Linked DNA regions of Homo sapiens: region 2 is linked to region 1. The links are contacts of gene promoters, found by promoter capture Hi-C in blood cells and fetal thymus (Javierre and others, 2016). All regions are on one chromosome and are shown on one strand. The core of a region is centred on a gene start or on the middle of the fragment in contact, and the rest is flanking DNA. Distances in the headings are between cores, read along the strand shown.

Evidence for each region. The method cuts DNA at HindIII sites, captures the fragments that hold promoters and counts their contacts. A CHiCAGO score of 5 or more calls a contact.
Region 2: a contact is called between a fragment that was not itself captured here and the fragment with the promoter of ZFAND4 in region 1, in 1 of 17 cell types (fetal thymus). The highest score is 5.7, in fetal thymus.

The regions. Positions count from the first base shown.
Region 1 is chr10:45,670,637-45,674,695 of GRCh38, forward strand. It overlaps ZFAND4 (zinc finger AN1-type containing 4), which reads right to left and starts at 2,136. Exons shown (of 10, transcript NM_174890.4): 1 at 1,614-2,136. RefSeq lists a silencer at 1,719-2,438. The HindIII fragment of the contact is 4,202 bases long and covers 1,351-4,059 here.
Region 2 is chr10:44,986,971-44,991,029 of GRCh38, forward strand. It overlaps RASSF4 (Ras association domain family member 4), which reads left to right. Exons shown (of 11, transcript NM_032023.4): 7 at 2,304-2,405; 8 at 2,700-2,751; 9 at 3,978-4,059. Among named protein-coding and RNA genes, the nearest start is that of DEPP1, 10 kb to the left of the region's middle. RefSeq lists an enhancer at 4,032-4,059. The HindIII fragment of the contact is 6,881 bases long and covers 1-4,059 here.

The sequences.
Region 1 (4,059 bases), core at 886-3,385:
AAGCTGAAACTGGATCCCTTCCTTACACCTTATACAAAAATTAATTCAAGATGGATTAAAGACTTAAATGTTAGACCTGAAACCATAAAAACCCTAGAAGAAAACCTAGGCAATACCATTCAGGACATAGGCATGAGCACGGACTTCATGACTAAAACACCAAAAGCAATGGCAACAAAAGCCAAAATAGACAAATGGGATCTAATTAAACTAAAGAGCTTCTGCACAGCAAAAGAAACTACCATCAGAGTGAACAGGCAACCTACAGAATGGGAAAAAAATTTTGCAATCTACCCATCTGACAGAGGGCTAATATCCAGAATCTACAAAGAACTTAGACAAATTTTCAAGAAAAAAACAACCGCATCAAAAAGTGGGCAAAGGATATGAACAGACAGTTCTCAAAAGAAGATATTTATGCAGCCAACAGACACATGAAAAAACACTCATCATCACTGGTCATCAGAAAAATGCAAATCAAAACCACAGTGAGATACCATCTCACACCAGTTAGAATGGCGATCATTAGAAAGTTAGGAAACAACAGATGCTGGAGAGGATGTGTAGAAATAGGAACACTTTTACACTGTTGGTGGGACTGTAAATTAGTTCAACCGTTGTGGAAAACAGTGTGGCAATTCCTCAAGGATCTAGAACTAGAAATACCATTTGACCCAGCGATCCCATTACTGGGTATATACCCAAAGGATTATAAATCATGCCACTATAAAGACACATGCACACGTATGTTTACTGTGGCACAATTCACAACAGCAAAGACTTGGAACCAACCCAAATGTCCATCAGTGATAGAGTGGATTAAGAATATGTGGCACATATACACCATGGAATACTATGCAGCCATAAAAAAAGGATGAGTTCATGTCCTTTGCATGGACATGGATGAAGCTGGAAACCATCATTCTCAGCAAACTGTCACAAGGACAGAAAACCAAACACCGCCATGTTCTCACTCATAGATGGGAACTCAACAATGAGAACACTTGGACACAGGGAGGGGAACATCACACACTGGGGCCTGTCGTGGGGAGTGAGATGGGGGGAGGGATAGCATTAAGAGAAATACGCAATATAAATGACGAGTTAGTCGGTGCAGAAAACCAACATGGCACATGTATAGCTATGTACCAAACCTGCACGTTGTGCACATGTACCCTAGAACTTAAAAAAAAAAAAAAAATCAATTCCCAAAGCATTTCTCTCATTTCTTCTGAAAAGTTTCTAAAAACACAACTCCAAGGATGAAATGGAAGTTAAAGGTAAACAGGCAATAGCGCTGAATACGTAATTTCAGTAACTCAGAATTTTCTCCAACCTCTGCTCTAAAGAAGCTTAGCTACAGAAGAGCAGTTACCTTTGAAACATTTTCCCCAACATAAAGATATCCGGAATGTGAAGCTGCCATTAAAACTGTGACACAGATCTACATTTACTGATACATCAAAACATCCCTAAAGTTCGAAATACGAGCTACAGAATCACATCAACCGCCTAACTTGTCTGTAGCCTAAACTCTAGTCCGGAGTTCATCTGCAAGCGGAATTGGGAAGTATTTCAGAGCCAGCATCTCCTCGCGCCATCCAGGTACCTACACACTTGAGGCCACCGAGTCACCTGCGCAGCCGTTGCTCCTCCAAGACCAATCCGGGCTCCCCAGACCCACCGGCCTGAATCTGGAGGACAGCAGTCCGCGTGACAACAGCGACTCGGAGATCAGCACCCGTCGGGAAAGCCGCGTACCCGTTGAAGCTGGCGTCACGCCCAAAGGAACAAACGCCAGAGCGTGTGTCCTGGGCAAAGGCGGCCCGCCGCTCCGGTCCCCGGGCAGCAGCGGCCGGCGTCAGGCCGCAAGGCGAGGGGCGGGGACAGGACTCTACCCGGCAGCCCAGCGCCGAGCGCCCGCGCCACTCCGGCCTTGCGCCATTCCGGCCCCACGACGGCCGGCGGCGGCAGCGCGGCTGGGCTCAGCGGCTCGCAGCCCGGGCGCCCCCCCTGCCGGCCGCTCGCTAGCTCAGCCTCACCCGCAGTCTTGTCCGCTGGCTCGCTCGCCCGCCTACAGGTCGACAGGGCCCAACGACCCGGCGAGCAACTTCACGGAAGGCACTGGCCGACAACGCTCCGCTGCCGCCGCGCCCCGCCCCTTTGTGACACCACCTACCAATCGCTGGACGGCGCTTTCGCTGCCCTCCAATCAGCGCGGGCGGGGGCAGGCCTGGCCCCCGGACGTGGGCGGTTGCCGGGGCGCCAGGGCCCTGGGGCCTTCTTGGCATTCGCTGGAGGTTGTGAGTTACGAGGCCCGGATGTTGATCTTTTATTACTAGCAACACTGGACCCCTGACTCGTGCCCACGCGGGCGTCTGGAGGGCAGCCGCATGGCCTGCTGGGAACGGCGGGGTTGAAGCCGGAGCCGCCCTCCGTGAGACCCACCGGGGATCCTCTTCCAGGCGCCTGATTTGCTGGAGATAGGCGATACAGGCAGACGCTGTCCAGTCGGTGGCCTCTCCAGAGTGAGGGGCGCTCCTGGTGCGTTTGGGCCGGCCTGTCCTAACAAATCTGCTTTAGGCTTCACCGTCCCCTAATGTTTCTGGCCTCAATTGCCTCATCTGGAAAATGGGGGCATTACCGTGCCTGCTTGAAGACAAAGGCGAAAACAGATAACTTTCTGTAGTCCTCATACAATTTACTGAGAACTGTAGGCCAGGCAATGGAGTAGGCACCCTGGGCTCAAATCCCAGCGTTGGGTAAGCCCAGCCACACCTCCTGCTCCAGTTTCCAAGCTGCTGAGCTGCGGTGTAAACAGTAACTGGCTTCAAGCCAACACCTGCCTTTCAACCTAACATGGGAGCCCACTGCCTCGTTCCGTTCCCCCTACCGATTTTCCAACTCCGTGAACCTCCTTCACTAAGTGGGTTACTCAGCTGACAAAGAATGTCATCTCACTCCCACTGCGGGTTCACTCATCCTCGACTTCTGGCTCAGAGGAGCCAGTCTAATATGAAACTAAACATCTAATCTGTGTCTCCTGTCCTCTCTCATTCTTCTGAGACCCTACCCACCAACTTATCTCCACAGTTCAACGAACTATTGAGCATACACTGGGGGAGTATGGTGAGGCACTGGGCATTGATTCACCAGTCTCGCCGTTGGTTCCTTCTGAAACTCCACATATGCTTAATGCTAAATAGATTGGAGACCTTTGAGGACAGAGCTATGATGGTAATCATCTTTGCATTCCTGAGCCTAGAATAGGGCCTGTGATGGAGACTTACTGAGTAAAAACCTTAGCGTTTCTCACCCTTGCCTGCCCACTTCATTCACACTGGAGAATTGACAGCATGGACCGTGGAGTCAGGCAGGTGTGTTTAAAGCCTTGCCTCCCAATACCAGAAGCTCCATTACCTGGCCAAGTCATTCATTCTTTACAACATCATCATCATTATCATCTGCCATTCTTCAAGTGCCAGATAGTTGATAAGGGTCTTTACGTATTCTCTCCCCATCACAATCCTGCAAAGTTGGTAGTGAAATCCCTCGTCTACAAAGGAGTAAACAAAAGCCAATTAAAGTAGAACAATTTACCTATAATCAAACAGCTCTATGTCGGAAAGCCATATTTAAACTAGGACACAATACAAAAATCCAACCTTGTTCCATTATTCCACATTGCTTCCAGATTTTAGCTTTATCTGTAAAATTAGTGTTACTACATTACCTATCTGATAGACCATGGAGACTGAATAAAATAGCATTAAAAGTTGTTACCATAGGAACTTTTTTTTAACGTAAGTTCTCTCTCCCTTTCAAGCCTCTCAAAATAGCAGCTTGCGTATTTTCTAAACCTGTTGTCTCCTGAATCCCCTGAAACCAATCCTACTGATTGATGAGTAGATTTAGTTGTTCCAAAAGAAAATCATCGTATTTAACAAATGCTGACTCTGACCGACATTGGGTACTACAGCAAGAAACTATGTGCACAAATAACCTACGGACAGAAGGAAGATGCATAAAATGAATAGGGGAAAGGAGTGGCCAACTAGC
Region 2 (4,059 bases), core at 663-3,162, 680 kb before region 1:
AAAGTAGCCAGGGGGCCTTTGTTCCTACTTGGAGTTGGTTGGTATCATCTTGAGAAAAGGCTTCGTGCAGAAGAAACACAGTGTCTTGTTAACAAGACTTTTTGTCCCTTTGAAATAGCCTAACTCCTCTGTTTCATGTTTCTTTTTTTATTTGAGATGGAGTCTCACTCTGTAGCCAGGCTGGAGTGCAGTGGCACGATCTGGGCTCACTGCAACCTCCACCTCCTAGGTTCAAGCGATTCTTCTGCTTCCTGAGTAGCTGGGACTACAGGTGCGCACCACGATGCCTGGCTAATTTTTGTATTTTTTGTAGAGACAGGGTTTCACCATATTGGCCAGACTGGTCTTGAACTCCTGACCTCGTGATCCGCCCGCCTTTGCCTACCAAAGTGCTGGGATTACAGGCGTAAGCCACTGCACCTGGCCCTCTCTTCCATATTTCTTTGGACAAGAAAGCCTAATCCTAATCCTGGCTTTCTGTATAACTCAGTCATTCTGCACCTCAACTAGAATCGAGCTGGGGGAAGCAGGTCGAGGTTGAGTCTGACTCTGGCACAGCGTGCTTCATTTTATTGTGCTTCTTGTTACTGTACCTTGCAGATTTTTGCAAATGGAAGGTTGCTGTTCAGCAACCTTCCATTTGCAAAAATGTGCACTTTTTTTTTTTTTTTTGCTGCACCTGCGGTTTCTGCAAATTGAAGGTGTGTGGCAACCTTGTGTTGAACAAGTCTATCGGTGCCGTTTTCCAACACTATGTGCTCACTTTGTGTCTCTGTGTCAGATTTTTTAGCAATAAAGTAGTTTTAATTAAGGCATGCATATTTTTTAGATGTAGTACTGTCTCACCCTTAAGAAACTACAGTATAGTATAAACATATCTTGTATATGCCCTGGGAAACCAAAACATTTGTGTGACTCACTTTATTGAGATATTCGCTTCATTGTGATGGTCTGGACCTGAACTCACAATGGCTCCCAGGTGTGCCTGGACTTATCAGAGCGGGGATACTGAATAGGTCCTTGAGCTCTCTGAGCCTTAGCTACCTCCTTGGGAAAACAGAGCTAGGATCTCAGAGGAGGAATATGCGAATCTAAACTTGAGTTTGAAAAGCAAGGAGAGGTTCACCTGCAGAGGAGTCACATTCGCTGGGAGGCACCAGCACCAGGGGGGTAACATGTAGGTTTTCAGGAATCATGGAATCCTTTGAGTCAGGGCTCTGTCTTTTCTAGGTGGGTAACTCTGAACAAGCTGGTTAACCTCCTAAAGCCTCTGATTCCTTTCTAAGAAAAGGGGACTAGTTATAGCTGCCTCAAAGGGTTGTTATGAATATTAAATCAATGATTGTATGTAAAATCTTAGCGGGTTCAATACACAGCTAGGGTTTATTGAGGACGGACCTATTATGTGTCAGGCAGAGTCCTGGTTGATTTCATATATGGTGTCTCTTAGGCAAAGGCAAGATACCTGCAAAAATATAATGTGTCCCCCCACCCCCCAGCCAAATTGTGAAGAAGCTCTGTGACTGGAGCACATGGTGCTTGTTAGGCAACCATAGTGTCATACGTGCGAGACAATGAGAAGAACTACAGATGTTATTGCACAGTCCCCAGGAAGCCTTCAGATACTTTTAGACCCGCGCTTTCAAACAGTGCTTCTCACATTGAACTGCACAGATCGCTTCGCCTTGTGTTCTACAGACGCAGACTCTGATTCAGATGGTATGGAGCAGGGTAGGGAAGGGAGCCGAGACTGTATGGATGCAGCTGGGCTAGACGTCACTTGGAGGTGCAAGGGTTTTAGAAGTCCGTTCCTGTAGGCAGCGGTGCAGACTACGGATTAGAGGGACTGAGACCAGAAGGGAACAAGCTGGGAAGCTGATATGGTGTGATCAGTGCCTCTACTAGGCACTGCTGGGAGAATGAAGAGGAGGAGACAGATTGGGTAACTTTCAGCCTTAGAATCAACAGACAACTGGTGACTTAATCAATAGAAAGAGTGATGGAGAGACTGATTCCCCCACCCTTGTGAATGACTTCCATGGCCCTGGTTCCTCGGGTCCAGAGAGCTGGCCCTTCTGGGTGTGTAGACATCTTCCTTAGGCCTCTGGAAGGAGTGCACTACTACAGCTTCCCGGAGTGTCTCCCAGGTCTGGGAACAGCTTATGTGTGCATCAGCGTGAATGGACAGGTGCAGGTGTTCCCAGATCTCAGCGTCACCTGCTGCCTTGGTCTGTTCACCGTTGTGATGTCAGTCCCTTGTCCCCTCTGGGCCTGACCTGAACTTCTCTCCCTTCCTGGTACAGACCTCCGTGTTTACTCCAGCCTATGGATCCGTGACCAATGTGAGGGTCAACAGCACCATGACAACCCTGCAGGTGCTCACCCTGCTGCTGAACAAATTTAGGGTAAGCCTGGTCAGGAGCAGCCTTGCCCCAGGATGCCAGTGGTCTGCTATTCTGTTGGGGGTGGGGTTCTGGGGAAAGCTGCCCGTGGCAGAAGCTGCCTGGGCAGAAGGTCTAGCAAGGGTCCCTCTGCTGAGCTTTGGTTTCTCGGATTTCAAGCAAGAGGAGGTTGGGAGAGGACAGGTTCCTTGCAACTTGCGTGTGTGTTACTGGGGGTGTAGTTACTGTCAGGGGACCCTCTCAGTTCTCTCCCATCTCCAAGCACCGTGATCTGACTTCCTGTGACTGCCTGTGCAGGTGGAAGATGGCCCCAGTGAGTTCGCACTCTACATCGTTCACGAGTCTGGGGGTAAGTACCTGCCCCACTTCTGGATCGTAAAAGCAAAAGGTCTCTACCTGTTCAGCAAGCCCCCTCCCCACCAACCACTGACTGTACTCCCTTCCAGATGGGCTCCGTGCTGGCTTGCCTAGTGGGCTAGGGCACACTGTGCCTCCCAGCATGAACATTTCTCCCCCACCCAAACCCAGGCACACTATGGAAGCCTTGAGGAAAAGAAAACATACTTTTGGCTTCGAATTTAAAGCACATTAAAATGTCCTTGGATTTTCTAGGTCGCTCAGTACATTAAGTTTAATTCTTTCAGGATTCTGAAGGAGAATCCCACCAAGCTATAGGAAGCCTCCCTCTCCGCCTCTTCCAGAGAAATGGATGGGTGGGTACCTAGCTCCTTGGCGCCGAGTCAGGAAGGGTGGGGTGCGTGTCGCAGTGCATCAGGCCCTGGCCCTCCCGTCTCAGCTTTCCTTTCTCCCACCCCTCAGATCTTGTTTCTCTTCAAGCTGCACCTTTGCTGAATGACACTGTAGGGGAGGAAAATTATCTTCTCTTTCTACCCATTTAGGTTCACTGGCTGGGGCCCTGTATTTAGATTAACAAAAGACAGATTAAGGAGAAGAACAAACAGAAGTTTGTTAACACTTGCATCATGCATGCCCTTTGGAATATCCAGGGATGAATGGTCAGAATTTGGGCTTAAATAGCATATTCACAAAAGAGCAGTAAGTTTTTAGAGAAGTGACAAGACAGAGGAGAAGGGCCTGAGTTTCTGGGGAGGCGAAGGGTGGGAAGGTCACCGCACGGGGAGCTGCGGGAAGGGAAGGGCTTCAGCGGGACGTGCTGTGCAGGTTCCTCTGGTGCCCTCTCCAGGCTGAGGAGGGGCTCGGGTTGTCTCTGGTGATTAACTCCATCATTGCCTAGAGAGGGACGGGGGCACACCTTGACAAATTTATGTCCTGCTTTTTGGCAAATAGGGGAGGGCAAAGAGCCTCACTTGTATCTTCTTCTTCTCAATTGCCAGCCGCTCCACTTAATCCTTATGCCAAAGTGGCAGATCTGGGGGCCCTGTTCTGCCTCCCTTCTGCATGAGCAGGAATCTCTCAGGGCAGCGCTGTTAGCGAGGTCTGTGTTCTTAGGGTTCCCTGCGCCCCTAGACGCACATTTTCTATCAGTTCCTAATCTGGAACAGACAGAGGTGATCCTAATCTCCCGTGATTTTTGTAAACCACCTTCTTTTTCAGAGCGGACAAAATTAAAAGACTGCGAGTACCCGCTGATTTCCAGAATCCTGCATGGGCCATGTGAGAAGATCGCCAGGATCTT